Regions from separate parts of the Homo sapiens genome. Here all the other regions are linked to region 3. The links are contacts of gene promoters, found by promoter capture Hi-C in blood cells and fetal thymus (Javierre and others, 2016). All regions are on one chromosome and are shown on one strand. The core of a region is centred on a gene start or on the middle of the fragment in contact, and the rest is flanking DNA. Distances in the headings are between cores, read along the strand shown.

Region 1 (6,071 bases), core at 919-3,418, 840 kb before region 3:
TGGAAAGCATCCAAGGTGGAAACAGATCGTTGGCTTGCAAGGTGGGGCGGGGCAGGACTGGGGCGGCCAGGATCCCCAGAAACTGTCACCTGCAGCCCAAGACCACTGCTTTCCTTCACTTCCCTGCGCAATACAAAGAGTGTAATTTTCTATGTGCGCCATTTGTAGGGACATGGATGAAATTGGAAATCATCATTCTCAGTAAACTATCGCAATAATAAAAAACCAAACACCGCATATTCTCACTCATAGATGGGAATTGAACAATGAGATCACATGGACACAGGAAGGGGAACATCACACTCTGGGGACTGTGGTGGGGTGGGGGGAGGGGGGAGGGATAGCATTGGGAGATATACCTAATGCTAGATGACGAGTTAGTGGGTGCAGCGCACCAGCACGGCACATGTATACATGTGTAACTAACCTGCACAATGTGCACATGTACCCTAAAACTTAAAGTATAATAAAAAAATAAATAAATTAAAAAAAAAAAAAACAATCACAAAAAAAAAAAAGTTTCATGGAGTTTCTAGAATTTCCTAGAGAACTACTAAATTAGTATTTCTAGGGCAGGTTCACAATGATCATTTCCAAAACTTCTACAGGACAATCTAATGTGCCCTGATGCTTAGGAACCATCGCTTTAAAACAGCAATTCTCAACTCTTTAAGGGCAAAAATACCTTTTCGTAACATTTTGCAATGCCTTCTTTATTATCCTACAGTGAAATCCATCAACAATATAACTGCCTAAATATAAAATTCAAAATAATCCATATAATGCCCTAAATATCACAAAGGGGAAATAAAATTAAAATGATTTTCATTACATAAATGCTCAGGTTAGTCAGACACTTGCTTGTACCTAAAGGAGAATCATGCTGAAAGCAAGGTTCGAGTGTGGACAGATACAGCGGTATTGAAATGGTGATGCGGGAGCATGAGCGCTGCTTTCTTGGATGTGATACTTTGAAATAGTAAACAACTTTTAGTAAATTTGCAAACAAAACAAAGTATAATCTTCTCTCGATTTACATGGTAGTTACAGTCCTAGAAAACTCACTGATACTTAAAACCATTTAAGTAAAAAACCTTTTATTGACATATCCTAAGGCCGGATCATTAGAAACATATTTTTCTCCTACATGAATGTCCAACAGGACATTCGAGGCCATACAGAATGTAGAATAGTTCTTCCTGGTGTGGTACTATCCCAGGGACTAAAACTTGTCTAGCATGCCTCATCACCACCTATTAAAGGCTAGTAGCCACCTAGCCCTCCATCCCCAATCACTGTGATAACTAAAAATATACCCAACCATTCAACCTCCCCAAACAATATGAATAGAGGTACCTGTGTCAGGCTATAGTATTATTTTCCCTTGTGACACTATCATACATGATAGTGACTCCAGAATCTCTGCGTGATTCTACCTATACTTATAATATTTTCAAAAGCAAATATTTACATAAATTCTACCATAACAGAAATTGCTGGTGAAATTCTACATGAATGGAATGACAGTTTCACAGATATGAGAAACCTTCTTCAGAAATCCTTGAAAAAACAAATGTAAACTACTTTTTTTAACAATCAAATTGCATTTTCCTGTTGACATATTTCAATTTCAGAATTATCTTCTCACTATTAGTATTCAATTGGCAGTGGTTCCTAAGCAGTTCAGCTCTGCATGTCAGTAAAATATATCAAACTACAGTTTAAATGTATTAAATGATTCCAAAATGCATCCTTTTAGTGTTAAAATGGTTTATAAACATCTCAAGTAAATTATCTTTTAAAACACAATGGTTCTCGAGCCTGTATGTGCATGACAACAAACACTAGGGGAGATGCTTAAAATGTAGAGATGCTTGGGTCATCCCTTGCCCACAGATTCTAACTGCATAGGCATGGGTTAAGTAGAGCCTAGGAAGCTTTATTATTTCTTAAAAGGTCTACAGGAGATCCTCATGCTGGCAGAGGCAGATCTAGTTTTGTGGGTCCTGAAACCTACACACAACTGGGCAGGTGGTCACGGGGAGTCTCTTTAAGAAAAAGAACAAAAAAATGGCAGGTTTCTGGGAGCCTTGGGAATGCTTCCTGCATTGGCTTCATAGAAAATCCATCTCTGGATGCTACTTGGGGTTGCAAAGTGTGACATAATGAAACTCACAACTGGAACACATGGGCAAAAGTATAAAGTCATACACTATGTATGCAGAGGCCATAAGCCCAGTGTTCACGGGCTTCAGGAGATAATATAAATGAGTAAGGCAGGCAAGGTATGAGAACACAGGAGGGAGTGGTGACCAAGTACCTGTGCTCTGAAGGCACCAGCACTATTTCATGTCAATGCCAAGGCACACTCAGTGTTGGCATTCCTCAAATTCAGCAACAGAAGCTTCAAGTCTGGATTTTTACATGAAATCTCCCAGTTTTTAAAAGTTAGCTCAATATTTTAATAAAACATTGGTTAGACCAAATAAATCATAAGTTAAAAATGCCAGTATGTCACTTCTGCTTTATAGAAGGGAAAAGATATTTCCTACCTAAAAATAAAACTGAAGAGTAGATAGTTTATTCAAGGATCCATGAAGGGAGACTGCTAAAAACATACTTTGTGAGTCAGTTCATACACCTGACAATGAAAAAACGGTTTGTTCAGGGATTCTGCAACATCTCAAGGACCTAAAGTTTACTCTAACACGTCCTAACGGAACCCAAAGAGTTCTGTAAGTCAATAAAAGGCAAGCTCTCCAATATAAAACTCGTGAACAGGAAAATCTTTCAAAATGAATCATAAATGGCTAATAAGCACATGAAAAAAGTTTGACCTCAATTACATCTGGTGCAGCAAGTCTGTGGAGATTAAAGTTCTCAGTTCTAATTATGACATTCTGAGAACACAGGAATAAACTAAACGGAAGTGCTTTTCCTATTCTCTCACTCAACCTACACAGAAGACTTCTGTGACCAAATGTTTTCCCCACAAACCGAGCAAGCAATCAATTCTGCAGGATACACCACCTGGGTGTCCTGTAATTCAATTCAACTGCAATACTATCTAACTCGAGACAGTATTAGATCCCACGGGTTGGGGACTCAGTCTCCAAGACTGCCCCTTCCCTTCAGATGCCCATCTAAAGCCGTAGGTTGTTTCACCTGCGCTTCTGACTGGCTATAAATCAGGATTCTCACAGCCCCCTCCTTGGGTTCGATTAATCTGCTAAATCAGCTCACAGAACACAGGGAACCACTTATGTTTACCAACTTCTGATAAAGGCTGTTACAAAGGATACAGATAAAGGGATGCATGGGGCAAGGCATGTGGGAGGGGGCAGAGAGTTCCATGCCCTCTCTGGACACACCGCCGTCCTGGAACCTCCATGTGTTCGTCTTTCAGGGAGCTCTGCAAACCCTGTCCTTTTGGGTTTTTATGGAGGCCTCATTAGTAAGCATGATTCACTCAATCATTGGCTATTGGTGATTTCCTTAAACTTCACCCCTCTCCCCTCCCCAGAGGTTAGGGGATGGGACTGAAAGTCTCAACCCTCTAATCCAGGGGTGTCCAATCTCTTGGCTTCCCTGGGCCACACTGGAAGAACTGTCTTGGGCCACAGATAAAATACACTAACACTACCAACAGCTGATGAGCTTTGAAAAAAAAACCTCATAATGTTTTAAGAAAGTTTAAAAATTTGTGTTGTGCCACATTCAAAGCTGTCCTGGGCTGCATGTGGCCCATGGGCTGTGGGTTGCATAAGCTTGCTCTAAGCTTGGACAAGGTAGCCCCATTCTAAAGCCACATAAGGGTTGCCAGGCATCAGTTAATTCATTAGCATACAAAAAGACATACCACTTTGAAAATCCTAGAAATTTTAAGAGGAAACTCAGAGGGAAGACCAAATATAGTCATGTGCCACATAATGACATCTGGCTCACCAATGACCACATATAGGACGCTGATCCATAAGATTATAATGCCATATTTTCACTGTACCTTTTCTATGTTTAGACATACAAAGACCACTGTGTTACAATTGCCCACAGTATTCAATACAGTAATATGCTGTGTAGGTTCGTGGCCTAGAAAAAACAGGCTAAGCCATAGAGCCTAGGTGTGCAGTAGGTATACTATCTAGGTTTGCGTAAGTACATTTTATGATGTTTGCACAAAGATGAAATCGCTTTATGACACATTTCTCAGAATGTGTCCCTTTCTTTAGATGACACATGGCTGTATATACTTCACAGTGTTAGATGTGATGTCCACTGCTGTTCCAAAGCTGATTTGATCCTACTCTCAAAAAAGTCAAATCCTGCTCCTCAGCTTTTCAACAGCTACTTTAAATATATATATATACATATATGTGTGTGTTTTATATATATATACATATATTAAACACCAATCTAAAAAAATAGATCTTGTAGACAAAAACACTGAACAGACAGTAGAAATATGCTTTTCAGTATGCTCTCCTGGTTGATTTCTGCAACACTTCTTAGTTATCTTAGTATATAAAACACCAAGTAATTCCAAAGAAGTAGTTAAGGCTACCAGCATACAGCCCATTCTACAGATACGTGGGCCAGTGTGGAATAAGGTGGAACCTCTAACTTACTATACCAAAAACCCTAGCCAAAGAGAAAGTTATAGTCACTTCCTGGCCCACTTTGTCAAGCCAAAACAGACCATTGGAAACTACTGCGTATCAAGCAGAGGCTGTGGTACAGCTAAAATAATGGAGAACATATGGTCAGTTTAATAACGGCCAAGGAATAGTGAGCAAGTCTAACACATACTTGTTATTATACTGTAAAATCATTTTTCTGCTTTCCATAATGGGTGGGAAGGAGGCTGGAGAGTGGAAAGAAAGGAGCAAAATAAATAAAAATGGCCAAACATAGAAGATTTTCTAAAGGACTAGCCACAAAATTATAAACCAACTTCTATCCGTGGTGAAAACAAGAAAATAAATCAACAGAAAACCTGAGAATTAGCAGATTTGTCATTTCTTCCTTTGTTTATTTGTGGTATTCTATCCCAGCCCACATTTTTCCTAAAGCAATAACTCGTAGGTTTCCTGGGTCCTGCAGCCAGATGCAAAGATCTGAATAGGCATGAGTAGGGGCTGAGCTGCCATGCTACTTTTTTCTTGTCTTGCTCTCCAGGAATTCCGTGTGTATGGTGAGGCGTCTACCTAAAGCAGACGCTCAACATTCACCCAACACATTCTATCTGTTATTCAGAATTATTCAGCTTCTTCTTTGCACTAAAAAGAAAAAATAACTAACTCAAAATGGGCCACAGACATAAAGGTAAGAGTTACAACTATAAAACATGGAAGGAAATACAGGACTAAGTTTTCTTCACTTAGGCAATGGTTTCTAAGACATGACATGGGAAGTACAAGCAACAAAATAAGAGATATAGATAACTGGACTTCACCAAAATTAAAACCTTTTGTACTATAAATGATGACTATGAAGAAAGTGAAAACATAACGAATACAATAGAAGACAGTATCCAGAGTCATACAATTAAGAAGGGGCTTGTATACAGATTATAGAAAGAGTGCTTTCAACTCAATCATAAACAGACAAATAAGCCAATTAAAAAACACAGCTGGGCCCTGTGGCCAGGAGTTTGAGACCTGCCGGGGCAGCACAGCCAAACCCCATCTCTACAAAACATTTAAAAATACAAAAGTCAGCCGGGCATGGTGGCGTACACCTGTGGTTTCAGCTACTCAAGAGGCTGAGGTGGGAGGCTCACTTGAGCCCAGGAGTTCAAGGCTGCAGTGAGCTATGCTATGATTGTGCTACCACACTTCCAGGCAACTATCTCTAAAAGTATATATATATATATATACACACACACACATATACATATAATAAAAATTCTCTAATTTTTTGGAAAAATGTTAAAAAATGGGCAAAGAATCTGAATAGACATTTCTCTAAAGATATACAGGTTGAGCATCCCTAACCAAAAATCTAAAATTCAAAATGCTCCAAAATCTGAAACGTTGGAGTGCCAACGTAACACAAGCGGATGATGACATTAA
Region 2 (6,849 bases), core at 1,646-4,145, 740 kb before region 3:
ATGCTCTGGAGAATTTCACATGGATCCTGTACTCTCCTAAATGAAAGCCAGGCTGGTTTAACTGTAAAAGAACTAGGAAGAACTGAGAGGCAATATTCAAAGTGAAAACACTTCCACTCTTAGCAAAGGGAAGCCAAGGACCTCTGTGCTTGGCCCAGACGGTCCGGGAAGAACCCCTAAATGGTGAGAATCACAACAGCAGTAATTCAAGGTCACACTAGATCCCCAGCCTCCTATAAGCCTGATTCACATACTAAACTCCACAGACTTTGGTCACCAGATTATTTTTTACAGTCTGACCCAACTTCAATCATGTCTGAATTCCTTTCCAAAAATTGGAAACGATCACTATCCATAACTCACCTCCCAATCCAACCCAAACCCAAAGACACTCTTTTCATAATGTCCAAATGACATTACCCCATGTAAACCTCAAACAAACCAGTCTTTAAGCCAAAGCAGATACACATTTTAATATTCACATGGTTTTGCCTCAGCATCTCTTAACCAAGACTGCAATTAACCTATCACCACACTGGTGTCTTAGTTTATGAATAATGCATGACAAATCACACCTGAATTTCTATAAAAGAAAAAAAATCACCTCCAAAAGTAGTAGTACCATGGACATGTTTTTTCAATGTAATGCCACGCTAAATTCCACTCAAATAATTTTCCATCAGGGCTGGCAAACAAATATGTAAATATCAAGGTTTTAGAAAGAGGGCAGAGCCATTGACTGAAAGTACCTTTAAATTTTTCTTTTTCAATGAGCTACTTCCATCTTACTTTATTTTTTTATTTCCAAATTCCCAAGATTTACTAGCCTGTAAGAATTTCCAAGGTTACTCAATTTTTTAAATTACTAGTATCTGATTAAAAGCAGAATTGAATTGCTTAAGTGCAATGTACATAATAAGGTATATGTTATTCTTTGGTCACAAATGAACAGTGTCAACAAAACTTTCTTTAAAGAAAACACACATTAAGATTGGCAAATCAAGCTTCTTATGCTCGCATTTAAAAAAAAAAAAACAACAACAACATTCAACCACGGAATTTGGCCGTAATAAGGTTATTTTAGCTTTGTAGCTCTAATCACTCTCCCACATTCAATGGTCAGGATAAGAGTGCTGATCCATTCACAGAACACACAAACAGATATTTAGAATGTGAAATTAAGAGTACATCACTGAATAAGTAATGCATAAAACGTGTCTAGGCATGGAAATATCAAATGGTAGGGCTAGAAGGCTCTGAAAGAGCATCTACCTAATCCCCTCACCCTACCAGGAAACTGTAGCGACAGAAGTTAAATAATTTGCCCAAGACGGTGGCAAAAACTCACCCAGTCAGTGGCAAAGCCTCTAAGCTAGGTGTCCTACCTACAGATCCAAGTCCCTTTCTTGATACCACTCTACTCCTTTTAGTACAAAAAGCTTCTATTAATGAAATATCTTACAAGACAAATCACTTGTGGATGGATATAAAAAGGTTGTGGAAGGACATCCAGCCAGCCACTAAAAACTGGTTGAAAAGGTGCTAATTTATTTTGCATTTGCTTAACTGGTGATGTTGAGCATGTTGCACTTTTAACTGCTGAAGAGGAATTTCATGACTTTTTGAAAAGAAAACCTCTTGGTTTGTAAATACTCTCAGAAAAGAAAGGATCATTTCTTGGAAAAGGGTAGAAAGTGAATTCCCTTTCCTTTAGCAGGGGACATCCTTTCCCTCACATCTCACAAAAATCCAATCAACCCCTCCCTTTCAAGGTCCAGCATAACTGCCAGCTCCTCTCTGAGAACTTCCAAGCCCGGAGGCCAGAAGCTTCCTCTGAGATCCTCCATGGTAGCCTACGCATAAGTCTCTCCCAGGCAAGCTCTCAAGCACGCTTCTTGAAAGCAGAAATCCTATCCTACTTACCTAGCTACCGGGCTTTGCAAAATCCTTTGCACATACTCAATTACAACGAACGCATTGAGGCATTTGTTGCCAGAATCCCACTTACAGTAATTTTCCAGATCTCCGTCTTCCCTACACCAACACCTGGACCCACTCAAGAGTTATTCTGGAGCGGAAATCCTGGATCCCGCTATCGGGAGAACCAGTGTCTAGAAAATGAAATCGTGGTGCCCATTCCATCCTCTGCCTAGTGGGCGTTTAACATCCTTTGACATCGAGGGGAATGGCAAAACGAAACATTTATTATTTAGGTCACCAACAACATTCTAAACCCACGTCCTCTAATCGGTGTTAATGTGTTTAAAAAAAAAATTCAGAACATCATTCGCCAGAACGGAAAGCTGAAAACGGCGGATAAAGTTAAATGCATGTAAAACAGAATGACTTAAACATCTGTAAAAGCTCCTGGGAATTGCACCGAATAATCTTCCCTTGTCCGTTTGCTCGCTCAATTCAAGTTTGTTTAGTTTAGTCTTTTTTTCTTTCTTTCTGACAGAAACGTGATAGTCCCTAAATACAAGCTGACCGGGCAAAGAAAGATCGGCATACGAGGTCCTCTTTCATGTTGCCTTCTTTTGATAGCTTTTCTCCAAAGTCTGAGGTTTTCAAAGCCGAGGTATGAACTAAAACCCCTAAACCTTAACACCACAAAGTTGACCCTGCTGGGCTCCTAAAAAACACAAAGCAAGCAAGCGCGAAGAGAAAAATCGCACCCTGCACCTATCCAGACAGCACAAACCCAGGTGGCCCCGGGATCCTGGGGGACAGAGCGGCGACAAAGCAACACAAACCCCACGTCGAACAGCGGCGCCGCGTGCGCACCCCGCGCCCGCGCCCCGGCCCCGGAGCTCACCGCTGCGCTCCTTCCTTCCATCTTCCATCGCCAGCCCGGCCGCGCGCCGAAACCGCCGCCGGGCGCTCCGGGGCCGCAGCCTCAGGGCGCGAGTGCCGGCGGCCAGCGCCGCGTGCTCTTTGTTGAGCTCCCGGGACTGCCGAGAGGCGGCGGCCCGCGCGCACCCTGGCGGAGGCTGGCGAGGCTGCGAGCCCGCGGCAGCCGCCCGCCCGGCCCCCAGTAACGTCAAAGCGAAGGCGGCGCAGGCGGGCCGGCGGTGGCGGGCCCCGGGGGCGGAGGGCGGAGGGCGGAGAGGCGGGGCCGACGCCTCGGGGAGGGGGGAGGTGGCTGGGCCTCCGAGGCGGGGGCGGGGTCTCCAGGGCAGGGGCGGGGCCTCCGGGGGAGGCTGGAGGCGATCCAGACCCTCGCAGTGCAGCCCTCGAGCGGCCCGGACCGTCCGCTGCCTCCCGCAGCCGCGCGCCCGCCCTGGGCCCAGCCTCCAGCCCGCGAGCGAAAACCTGCCTGTTGCTTTGTCTTCTTCCTTCACAGTTTTCCCACCCTGAGAAAAGTGAGAGGTGCTTTCCCTGGTGTTTCCTCTCAGGAAGGGCCGTGTGACTGGAGCCGCGAGTTGGGCGCCGTCTCGCCGGGGCTGGAGGTACGCGGGCTTCGGGACACGCACCTAGGCGTCCCTCGGGGTCCCGGCCTCTCTGACCGGGCTCCCCCGGCACCGATCCGCGGCCGGAGCGTTTAGTCCCGGGGACCCGTCGAGCCCTGAAAGGGCCATTTCCCCCTGAGGCGAGTCCCCCCAGGCGCCCCGCAGCCTGGCCTCGGGACTGCCCCCACCGACAGTGCGTGCGCGGGGAGAGGTCACTTAAAACTGCATTTTCGAACATTAGTGCCCCGGACCCGCACCTTTTTTCCTCCGTCCTTTGATCTGTGCCGCAGAGGCAAGGGCTGGAACGGCGCCCTCCCCTGGTAGAGGGACGGAGAGACCGCAAATCTTTCCCCCTGGGAGGTCCGTTAAGTAGATCCAAGCACCTGGAGGCGGAACCTGTGTGGCCGGCTACAGGGTGGTCCTGTGTATGTGTTACCGCCTTATTGTTCCAAAGAACAGTCTTTTTCAAGTGACAGGTAGAAGACGCCCCAATAACGAGAAGTGACTGACTTGGCCAAGCTTAGAGATGGGAGTGGAGTCAGGTTCCCTGGTGGCCCCACGATCTCGCCCACCATGTCAGCATGGGCTGCCCGGTGAGCATAGCTGAGATGCACCAAGGCCACATAAGTCACCTACTTTGCCTTGGCTGCCCCATCTGCATCTATCAAAGGAAGCCTTGGACACCCACCAGAGGAGCCAGCATGAGGGAGTGTATGCCTTTATACAAATTCACTCCAACTTCAGAAAAACGTCCGCAGCTCATGCTCCCCCTGCCAGAGCAGCAGTGTGAGCAGCTGTGTAGGTTTGGAAGCACCCCAGTCACTTGGGCATTGATATGGTTTGGCTGTATCCCCACCCAAATCTCATCTTGAATTGTAAGTCCCGCAGTTCCCAGGTGTGTGGGAGGAACCTTGTGGGAGGTGATTGAATTATGGGGGCGGGTCTTTCCTGGGCTGTTCTCGTCATAGTGAATGAGTCTCACGAGATCTGAAGATTTTAAAAATGGGAGCGCTTGTTGCACAAGCTCTCTCTTGGCCTACTGCCATCCGCTTAAGATGTGACATGCTCCTCCTTGCTTTACGCCATGATTGTGAGGCCTCCCAACCATGTGGAACTGCAAGTCCAATAAACCTCTTTCATTTGTAAACTGCCCAGTCTCCGGTGTGTCTTTATCAGCAGTGTGAAAATGGACGAATACAGGCATATTTCTCGTTTGTGATCTCCCTTTACCCTTGCGTACATACCCTACAGAGACAGTCCCAGTGTGCCTATTCCCAGTCAACTCCTGCCTTCCTTGACGGTTTTGTTGGCAAAGCATCAAAAGTAAGACCCAGTACAAAATGTAGTTGCTACCCTGAGGCTTGACCACTGGCCTACTGGCCTTTACCTGGGAAATTAACCAACTCATAAACAAACAAAAAAAAGTAATCATATAGGAGGCAGGGTGGACATAGATTTACTTGATATTTCTAGTTAAGGGACTTGGGCATAGACATCTATAATCTGAGCCTCTGTTTCCTCATTTATAAAATTGGGTTAATAATGCCATACAGAAGTGTTATTAGCATGATAAATTAAGGAAAGCTCCTGGCCTATAGTGAATGTTCAATAGAGGAGCATTTCATAAGTGAAGCCACAGAAATGTGTTTCCAATTTCCATCGCAAAGGAAATTTTTAATTGGTTTTATCCCTGAAGCCAAAATATTTTAAGATTGTACTTATAAAGCTGATCACATCTATTAAATAATCATTCATTCGTCCAGTTATAAATAATCAAAGATAAAATGGTTAGAGGTTCTGATCAGCATAAATTAGCCAGTGTTACCACTACTAAGTCAATGAAGCCTAAAGCAAATCAAATAAACATTGACATTTCATTTTTGCCAGCATGTATTTTGTGTGTAAATATTTTGTTAGGCTTTTGGAAATATTAAAAATGAAGTAAGAATCCCCATTTCTGCTACCATAGCCCCCAGTGCTCAAGTTCAGTGTCAGAATACACAAGCACCCGCCTTGGTAAAAAAAGAAAGGAGGCACGCAGACCACCTAGGCATGGGCTAGTGTATATTTATCCAATAACATATTCCTCCCCCACCTCTTCCCATGAGCCCTAATGTATGTGGTGTGGAGAGACTATATAGTAGGCAAGACATTATATACTGCAGGTCAAAAGAAGAAAAGGAAGATGAAATTCCATCATGTATTATTCATGCATACAGTTAATCCTTCCTATTTCTGAAGGTCACTGAAAAGCCCAGATTATTGAATATTTATTTTTTAGTACAACATGAACGTTTATTTAGAATGACAAAAATCTCAAATACAAATTTCTAAGAGTTGACAAATCCCACAAACATTACCAAATCCAGAAAAATCACACAATAGTTTTATCTACCACCTACATAATATTTTGTAGTAATAAACTTCCTAAAACACTTCAGTAATATTTGTCTTCACCTGTTTTCTGCTGCTATAAGAGAATACCACAGACTAGGTAATTAATAAAGAAAAGAAATGAATCTCTCACAGTTCTGGAGGCTGGAAGTCCAAGAGCACAGCAACAGCACATGGTGAGGGTGGTTCCATGGTGGAAAGCATCACATAGCAAGCAAGCACAAGAGACGGGAAGCAAATGGGGTCCAAACTTATCCTTTTGTCAGAAGCCCATTCTCTAGATAACTGACTCACTCTCTTAATAACAGCATTCATGAGAGCAGAGCCCTTATGACCCAATCACCTCTTAAAGGCCCCACCTCTTAGTCCTATTACAATGGCAATTAAATTTCAACATGAATGTTGGCAGGGACATTCAAGCCATAGCAATACTTTTTCCTCAAGTATTTTGGCTACATACTTTTTTTTTTTTTTTTTTTTGAGACAGTATCTCACTCCATTGACCAGGCTGGAGTACAGTGGTGCAATCACAGCTCACTGCAGCCTCTACCTCCCAGACTCAAGTAATCCTCCCACCTCAGCCACCCAAGTATCTGGGACTACAGGCACACACCACCAGACCCAGCTAACTTTACATTTATTTAAGATGGGGTCTCCCTATATGGCTAGGCTAGTGTCCAACTCCTGGCCTCAAACAGTCCTTCTGCCTCAGCCTCCCAAAGTGTTGGGATTACAGGCATGAGTGACCGTGCCCAGCCTGGCTACATACTCTTGATAATCTCATTGGAAAGATTTTTTTAAAACAGCTTTATCAAGATCCAATTCACATACCACACAACTCACCCATTTAAAGAGTACAAATCAATGTGTTTACTATATTCACAGATTTGTGCAATCATCACCACAGTCAACTCTGGAAACTTTTCATCATCCCCTAAAGAAACCCTATCCCCATTGGCGGTCGCTCCTCTTTTCCCTCCAAACCCCTCAGTCCCTGGCAAACACT
Region 3 (2,700 bases), core at 201-2,700:
TATTTTGATATTGTATTATGTGGAGTACATATGGTGTGGCAGCTCAAGGCAGACGAATTATTAAATATGTACGGTGATCTTACAATGGGTATGGCCCGTCTCTTGCTTTCTAGGAATTGACCATCTTCCGGCAGCCCAACACCTAGTCCCCTGTGTATTATGCACTATTACAAAACGTGTTCAAGTCGCCTTTTATGCCTAAGGCTTACATAAAAATTCATCTTGCCTTTCTGCGTCTATTTCCAAGTTTGAAGGACCTTTCTCCCTCCAATTAGCAACATTTCAGCACTGCACAGGGCTTATTAATGCTCACTGTTGCAAGTAACACCAAGGTAATTTGACTTTCTTGTAGGAACAATGTCGACGAAATCCTACAGAATTAAATTTAAATTTCCAGTTTAAAAAAAAAAACCGTGAAAGAACACTTCATTACCTTTATTATCTAGACGTATCTAATGACGTTAAGTAAAAACTGCACCAAGGCTTTGAAACCAGAAGAAAAGTGGAGTTTGTGAAATTTAACCACTCCATGCTTTTTATTAGTATTTCACTTATGAGTATTTCCCGAGGCTCACTGTTTTGGCAGGCACAGTGCTGTTAACATCTCTTCCTTTCTCACCATTCTTTGCTCATCGATGAAAAGATAACTTCAAAATCTCTGACAGGAATGCAGGTGCAGGAAGTGCGACGGAAACAAACAACTTTGCCTCCGCTTCCTACAGCTTTCCTCTCCTCCCCGCCCTTCTAGCCCCCATCCCACCCCAAGATCATGCCCTCGAACAGCTTCTGCCCACCGATCGCACGTCCCCTGGGCATGTTCGGGCAGCGGTGACCCTCAGCCACATCCCCCACTAGCCCGGTCCCGGGCAGGCGAGCGCGCTGCCCACCGGCCACCCTCGTCACGCCCCCTCCACCCTCTCCATCCCAGCCACAATAATACAATAACCGCAGTCATCGCGCGGCACGTGGAAAGGCTACTTTTCAGTGGGTTTTGCAGAAAGCAATCAGACAGCGGAAGGCCACGAGAAACGCTGGTGAAGCCAAACCGACCCCGGGAGCGCAGCGGCCCCGGACCCTCCCTGGAAGCTCCCTCCGCGTCCCCGCGCGCCCACCTGGAGGCGCCGCGCCCTCCGCCTGCCAAGCCGGTCCCCGGCCCCTGCCCGTGCCCTGGGCCCCCGGCGGGCAGCGGCGGAGGGAGGCCAGGCGCGGCACCGTCCTCCGCAGCTGCACGAGCCACCCCGAGGTCGCGGGGTGGGCGGGCGCGAGCTAGGCGCGCGGGGCTGTGGGGATCTGCCGGCGCCACTGACGCCCCCGCGCGGCACACCGCGCCCGGCTGGCCCGGGAGGGGACCCGACTCACCCGAAGCGCCCTGCTAGCTGCCCGGCCCGGCTCCGGCCGCTGCCGCCGTCGCTGAACTTTCCCTCCTGCGCGGCCGCCGCGGACTCGGCTCCACCTCCCGCTCCGGCAGCCGCGGAGCCTCCAGGGACCCCGGGGGCGGGGAGCAGCGGCGGCGGCGGCGGCTCGGGCGGGCGGGCGCAACAGCGGCCAAGCCTGGCGCCCCGCCGCAGGGTAGGTCCGGCGGGGGCGGCCAAGGCCGGGCTGGGGTCGCGGTTGGCCGCGTACCTCCGCGTCACCCACGGCCTCTCTGCAGTGCGTCCCTGCGCCCGTCGGAGCGGCGCCCTGGCCGAAGCCTGTCACTCTCGGAAGGGGCCGCGCTCGGACACCAGGGGCGGTTTACGCGTGACTGGACACCAAGAGCCGGAGAAGTTTAGAGACTAGGACACTGTGGCGTGGCCCGAGTTGCAGGAGAGAGGTGTCCAATCTCCATGGGGTCCTTACTCTTGCAGGACAGAGTTCCCCATCCCCCTGCTCCACCCGCTCTGTTCCCTTGGCTGCCCTCCCCGCCGAGCGCCGACTTCCATGCAAAAACTTTGTAAATCGCACTTCGGGGAATTCACGCTTTAGTCGCGGTCTCTGCTGCCCTGGTCAGCTATAACGCCTCCCCTAGAGAGCTTTTACTTACAGCGAAGGTCAGGAACCCCTGTAACTCTCACACCGCACCACTGTGGGTAAGCGATGTCTGCAGGGACCCCTGACGGCCACTGGGAGGCCAGGAGAGAAGAGGGAGAGGAAAGGCTAAAAAGGCAAGTGGAGTGTTGGGTAATAAAAGATCCACCGCCACCTCCAGCACACACAGGCAGGCACCCTCCAGGGCCACAGGTCGCCTTTTATCTGTAAGTGCTCCAGCGCATCTCTGTGGGAGAGGGAGTTGGGAAATAGGATCGCCAATTTTCAGTGTAATTGAGGGGGACTCAGGAGGAGTCAGTTAGACTGGAAGAGGTCATCACCTGCAGATGCGGTTAAGCAACTTGCAGAGGCCCCAGGGCTGAGCCACCGCAGAACCGGAGCTGGAAACCAGTCCTATGACTCCTGAGGCAGTGCTCTTTCTACTACCTGGCCATGGCTCCTTCTACTGCCTGGCTCAGAGTCTCCATCTGGGAGATTCCGGCGCACCAGACTTTATTGTGGGCACAGGGTAGGCAGTCCTGAGGCTATAGGCACAGTCTTGAAGCAGCTCGGTTTCCATTAAGCTCCTGCTTACCTGCAGGAAGCATCCCTGAAGCAAGTTTTGCTTCCCACCTGGACTCCCCAGGTGGACCTATCCCCACCCCACACCCTGAGTGAACTCTTCACCCTCGT
Region 4 (6,019 bases), core at 2,712-5,211, 860 kb before region 3:
CCCACCTGAGCCTCCCAAAGTGCTGGGATTACAGGCGTGAGCCACCGTGCCCGGCCTATGTTTTGTCTTTTTGATAACAGCCATTCTAGCTAGGTTGATATAATATCTCATTATGGTTTTGATTTGCATTTCCCTGATGTTCAGTATTTTTTCATATACCTGTTGGCCATCTATATGTCTTCTTTTGAGACGTGATGTGTCTGCTTATTGAAGAGACTGTCCTTTTCCCAGTGAATGTTCTTGGTGCCTTTGTTGAAAATGAGTCGGCTATAAAGATGAGATTTATTTTTCTGGGTTCTATATTCTGTTCCATTGGTCTGTGTATCTGTTTTTATGACAGTACTATGCTATTTGGTTACTATGGTTTTGCAGTATATTTTGGAGTCCGGTAGTGTGATGTCTCAAGCTTTGTTCTTCTTGCTTTGGCTATCCAGGGTATTGTGTGGTTCTAGGCAAATTTTAGGACTGTTTTTTCTATTTCTGTGATGAATGACACTGGTACTTTGATAGGGAATGCACTGAATGAGTATACTGCTTTTTGTAGTATGGCCATTTTTACCATATTAATTCTCCCAATTCATGAAAATGCAATGTGTTTTTATTTTTGCATATGCCTGCTGCAATTTCTTACATCAGTGTTTTATAGTTTTCCTTGCAGAGACATTTCATTTCCTTGGTTAAATTTTTCCCTAGGTATTTTACTTTTTGTAGCTACTGTACCTGCAATTGCTTTCTTACTTTCTTTTTCTGCTATTTGAATGTTGGTATATAGAAACACCACTGATTTTTCTAAGTTGATTTTGTATCCTGCAACTTTACTGAATTAGACGGTCAGTTCAGAGGTTTTTATTTTTTGAAGCTTTCATAGTTTTATTTATATAAGATCATTTATCTGGCTAAAACTTCTAGTACTCCTGAAAAAAAATGGAGAAAGTGGTCATTCTTGTCTTGTTCCAGAGCTAGAGGAAAAGTTTGCAGCTTTCCCCAGTTCAGTATAATGTTGGCTATGGTTTTCTCATATACGGCTTTGACTGTGTCGAGGTATGTTCCTTCTTACCTAACTTGCTGAGAGTTTGATTAAAGTGCAGTTTAAATCCAATGTTGCTTTGTTTGTTTTCTGTATAGATGATCTATCTGATGCTTAGAGGGGTGTTTAAGTGCCCAACTATTACTGTCCTGTTTAAGTGCAATTTAAATCTAATAATATTTGCTTTGATTACCTGGGTGCTCCAGTATTAGGTACATATACGTTTATAAGTGTTATATCTGCTTGCTGAATTGATCCTGTTATCACTGTATAATGACCTTCTTTGTCTCTTTTTACATGAGTTTACTTAAAGTCTGTTTTATCTGATATAGGAATGACTACATTTGCTTGCTTTTGGGTTCTGTTTGCATGGAATGTCTTTTTCCATACTTTCACATTCAGTCTACAGTTGACCTTTGAATAAGATGGGATTTAGGGGCACTGAGCACCACCACCATGCAGTTGAAAATCCACATAACTTTTGACTCTCCAAAAACTTAGCTACTAACATATTAGCCTACTATTGACTAGAAGTCTTACTGATAATATAAATAGGGAATGGACACATATTTTGCATGTTGTATGTATTATATACTTTATTTTTATAATAAACTAGAGAAAAGAAAATGTTACTAAGAAAATGATGAAGAAGAGAAAATATATTTACTATTCATTAAGTGGAAATGAATCATCATAAAGGTCTTCATCCTCAATTTCTCATTGAATAAGCTGAAGAGGAGGAGAAAGGAGTTGTCCTCATCTCAAGGATGGGAGAGGCAGAAAAGGTAGAGGAAGAAGAACAGGAAGCAAGAGAGGCAGGCACATTCAGTGTAAATGTACAGACATAATCATAGTTTCTGTCTTTTTAACTTTTTCATTTCTCCAAAAATGTTTCTTCTATACAGTACCAATCCTTCTTCCACTGTTTGCTTTAGTTTCAGTGCCCATATGATAGAAGGGTCAACATCATAAAAGAAGTCAAAAACAGTCTGGAATCATGGGAACCATTCTGCCAGATTATCTCATGTCAATTTGTTTTCTAGAACTGCTTCTTCCACGTCTTTTTCCTCATCATCTGGCACTAATTTTGAAGCACTCATCTCCAGCAATTCATCTTCTGTTAACTTCTCTGGTGTGATACCTATTTGCTCTTGAATTTCTCTGATATCTACATCTTGAAATCCTTCCTCACCACCCCTCATACCTTTTTTCCCATATCTACAATATCTTGTCATGATTTTCTTGATTGGCTCAAATGTAAATCCTGTGAAGTCCTGCACAACATCTGGATAAAGTTTTCTCCAGCAAGAACTTATTGTTTCAGATTTCAAGGCTTTCACAGCTTTTCCTTTAACAATGGAATCTTCAACGATGCAATCTTCCAGACTTTCATGATGTTCTGTCAGGGTTCTCTTCCATAGCACTAACAATTCTTTCCATAAAACACTGTGTGTAGTGAGCCTTAATGGTCCTTATGACCCCCTGATGTAGAAGCTGAATTAGAGATACTGTGTTTGGGGGCAAGCAGATGACTTCGATGTCTTCACTGTTGAACTCATAGAGTTCTGGGTGGCTAAGGGTATTGTCCTATATCAAAAGAACTTTAAAAGGCAGTCCCTTACTGGCAAGGTACTTCCTGAACTTAGGGACAAAGCACTGATGGAACCAATCCAGCAGAAGAGTTCTTGTTGTTCAGGTCTTCTTGTTATATAACCCAAAGATTGGTATCTGTGTTTATCTTTTCTATTCAAGGCTCAGGGGTTAGAAATTTATAGACAAGGGCATTCCTCATCATAAATCCAACTGTATTTGCATAAAACAATACAGTTGGCCTATCCCTTCCTGCCTTAAATCCTCGTACTCACTTCCCTTCCTTACTAATAAATGTCCTTTGTGGAACTGTTTTCCAGAAAGGGGGCACTTTTTTTCTACAAGAAAAAAAAGAAAGAAACCTGCCAGGCAGATATCCATTCTTCTCAATGATTTTCTTAATGGTGTCTGGGAACTTGTCTACTGCTTCTTGGCTGTCTGCTGCTTCTCCTGTTATCTTGACATTTTTTAAGGCAAATCTCTTTCTAAAATTATCGAACCATCTTTTGCTGGCATTACATTCTCCAAGTTTAGATCTAACACCTTCCTTTTGCTTTAAGTTGTCATACACTAACCTCATTTTTTCTTAAATCATTGTAGAGTCTATAGGCATGATTTTCTTATAGGTATCCTGCATCCACATAACAGCTACATTTTCAATATAAAAAAGTTCAAGGTTTTGTGCCTACTGAGGGAGCTGCAGTGACAACAAATTTCCTTTTCTTTTCTTACAACGGTACTTACACTGCTGGATTCTTTTATCTTGAAATGGCAGGTGACCACAGCTGCAGACCTCAATCCATTTGGTACATATCAAGCAATTCACCCTTCTTATAACATCATGAATTTTCCCTGCTTCTTGGGAGCACTTCCAGCATCACTAGTGGTACTTTGTATGGGTTCCACGGTGTTATTAAGGTTTATAGTAGTGAACTAAACATGATGAAAAATACACAAAAACCATGAGAGACAACTCTTTTTTTTTTTTTTTTTTTTTTTGGGAGACAGGGTCTTGCTCTGTCACTCAAGCTGGAATGCAGTGACACAATCATAGCTCAAACTCCTGGGCTCAAGACATCCTGACACCTCAGCCTCCCAAGTAGCTGAGACTACAGGTGTGCACCAACATGGAGATCACTTTTTAATACAACACATAATTTACTGGACAGATGAATGGTTCACATGGAGCTGTTAGCATCACACAGTGTTTTAAGCAGATACAACACTCAAGCTCATTGCAATAGCAACAACAGGTGGCTTCAACATTATTATATAGTACAGTATGTACTACAGTTAATTGTATGCAGTTATGATTTAATACTGCATCTTTATGTTTCTTTACATTTCTCGGGACTGCAAATGGCACCATGTACAGTCTGGTGTATATAAGTTTTGATAAACTTTAACTTTTTAAAGTAGATGTGTTTCTATTTCATGGTAATAAATGATTAAACTAGTATCTACATATATTTTATGAATTCATGTCACAACTCTTGTTCATTTTTCCAGTATTTCTAGTCTACATGGTTTGTCTGCAAGTTTTCTCAAATTGTTGCAAATCTCCCAAAAAATTAAACAACATATTTATTGTTTAAAATATTTGAATATAAGTGGACCTGTGCAGGTCAAAACCTGTGTTGTTAATAGTCAACAGGTAAAGTGAGTTTCTTGTAGGCAGCATAGAGCTGGGTCATGTTTTTTCATCCATTTAGCCAGTCTATATCTTTTAAGTGGAGAATTTAATCCATTGACATTCAAGGGTATTATTGATAGGCGAGAACACACTCTTGTTATTTTGTTAATTTGTTTTTGAAGTTGTTTGTATATCCTTTGTTCCTTTCTTCCTCCTTTCGTTCCTTTCTTCCTCTTTTTCTATCATTGCAGTTTGGTGGTTTTCTGTAGCCTAAGTCTTGATTCTTTCCTCTTTCTCCTTTGTGTATCTGCTCCACCAGTGAGTTTTATAATTTTGCCTGTTTTCATGATAGTGATTTTCATCTTTTCACTTCCAGATGCAGGACTCCCTTGAGCACTTTTTGTAAGGTTGGCCTAGTGGTAATGAATTCTCTCAGTTTTTGTTTGTCTGGGAAATACTTTATTTCTCCCTCATCTCTAAAGGATAGCTTTGCTGGGCATAGTATTCCTGGCTGGCAGTATTTCTCTTTCAGCTCTTTGACTATGTATCAGCCCATTCTCTCCTAGCCTGTAAGGTTTCTGCAGAGAAATGTGCTATTAGTCTAATGGAGAGTCCCTTAGATGTGATTTGACTCTCCTCTTTTTCTGTTTTTAGAATTTCCTCTTTGTCCTTGACTTGTGTCAATTTGACATAAATGTGCCTCAGGCAAAAAAGAAAAAAGAAAAAAAAAGACCTTTTTGGGTGGAATTTATTTGGAGACTTTTGAGATTCCTGGCTCTAGATGTCCATATCTCTCCCCAAACTTGGGAAGTTTTCAGTTATTATTTCATTAAATATGCTTTCTATGCTTTTTTCTTTCTGTTTTCCTTCTGCAAATCCCATAACACAAATATTTATTTACTTAATGGTGTCCCACAAGTCTTATAGGCTTTCTTCACTTCAGAGATTCTTACGCTTGATCAAGTCTTCTATTGAAGGTCTCTGCTGTATTTTTTTATTTCACTGATTGAATTCTTCAAATACAGGATTTTTATTTAATTCTTTTTTATAATTTCTCTCTCTTTGCTGAATTTCTCATTCACATGGTGAATTGTTTTCCTGACTTCATTAAATTGTCTCTCTTTTCTGTTTTTCACTGAGTTACCATAAAATTATTACTTTGAATTCATATTCCACCAAGTCATTGAATTCTTTTTCACTGAGGTCTGTTATTACAGAGTTATTATGTTTCTTTAGTGGTGTCATATTTCCTTGCCTTTTCATGTCTTGTCTCCCTGTGTTGATGTCTGTGTGGCAGATATCTGTGTGTTGATGTCTGGTGGAACGGTAGCCTCTTCCAAACTTACTAGACTGGCTTTTGTACAGAAAGACTTTGACCTTCAGTAGGGTTTTACTGTGCTGGTTGGAAAGAATGTGGTAACTGTTTCCAGACAGGTGCAGTAGTAGAGTCTCTGTGCAGACTCTTCATCTGCATTCAATGTCAGCAATAACTGTGGGTGCCTCAGTGGCGTATGTTGTAGATGTTCGTGGCAGTGGTGACAGTGGCATAGGCTGCTAATGTCTTCAGTCCTCCTATTCTCATTTTCCACACAATGGGGAGACTTAGATGAGGGGATTTCTCTAGGTGTCAGGTCTGACATGGCCTACAAGTGGCTGTAACAGCACTGAGTTGCTTGGAGTGGCTGTGGGGCCAGGGTCCTAGGCTCAGAATCTTGTGAACCTCCTGTGGCACCTGCATCTTGGAGTGCGAACTTGCTGTCTGTGAAAGG

The links. The method cuts DNA at HindIII sites, captures the fragments that hold promoters and counts their contacts. A CHiCAGO score of 5 or more calls a contact.
Region 1: a fragment that was not itself captured here is called in contact with the fragment with the promoter of CSGALNACT1 in region 3 in 5 of 17 cell types (naive CD4 T cells, non-activated CD4 T cells, fetal thymus and 2 more); the score reaches 10.9 in naive CD4 T cells.
Region 2: a contact is called between a fragment that was not itself captured here and the fragment with the promoter of CSGALNACT1 in region 3, in 1 of 17 cell types (fetal thymus). The highest score is 5.9, in fetal thymus.
Region 4: a fragment that was not itself captured here is called in contact with the fragment with the promoter of CSGALNACT1 in region 3 in 2 of 17 cell types (naive CD4 T cells and non-activated CD4 T cells); the score reaches 7.0 in naive CD4 T cells.

Annotation. Positions count from the first base shown.
Region 1 is chr8:18,919,533-18,925,603 of GRCh38, forward strand. All of the region lies in intron 2 of PSD3 (pleckstrin and Sec7 domain containing 3), which reads right to left. Among named protein-coding and RNA genes, the nearest start is that of PSD3, 91 kb to the right of the region's middle. The HindIII fragment of the contact is 467 bases long and covers 1,936-2,402 here.
Region 2 is chr8:19,010,748-19,017,596 of GRCh38, forward strand. It overlaps PSD3 (pleckstrin and Sec7 domain containing 3), which reads right to left and starts at 2,956. Exons shown (of 16, transcript NM_015310.4): 1 at 2,816-2,956. The coding sequence starts at 2,836. LOC124901898 (a long non-coding RNA gene) reads left to right here and starts at 3,256. Exons shown (of 2, transcript XR_007060840.1): 1 at 3,256-3,449. RefSeq lists silencers at 2,840-2,939, 3,010-3,099. The HindIII fragment of the contact is 2,141 bases long and covers 1,826-3,966 here.
Region 3 is chr8:19,755,827-19,758,526 of GRCh38, forward strand. CSGALNACT1 (chondroitin sulfate N-acetylgalactosaminyltransferase 1) reads right to left here and starts at 1,451. Exons shown (of 9, transcript NM_001354483.2): 1 at 1,360-1,451. The HindIII fragment of the contact is 8,664 bases long and covers 1-2,700 here.
Region 4 is chr8:18,897,051-18,903,069 of GRCh38, forward strand. The region is part of intron 2 of PSD3 (pleckstrin and Sec7 domain containing 3); the gene reads right to left. Among named protein-coding and RNA genes, the nearest start is that of PSD3, 110 kb to the right of the region's middle. The HindIII fragment of the contact is 6,209 bases long and covers 858-6,019 here.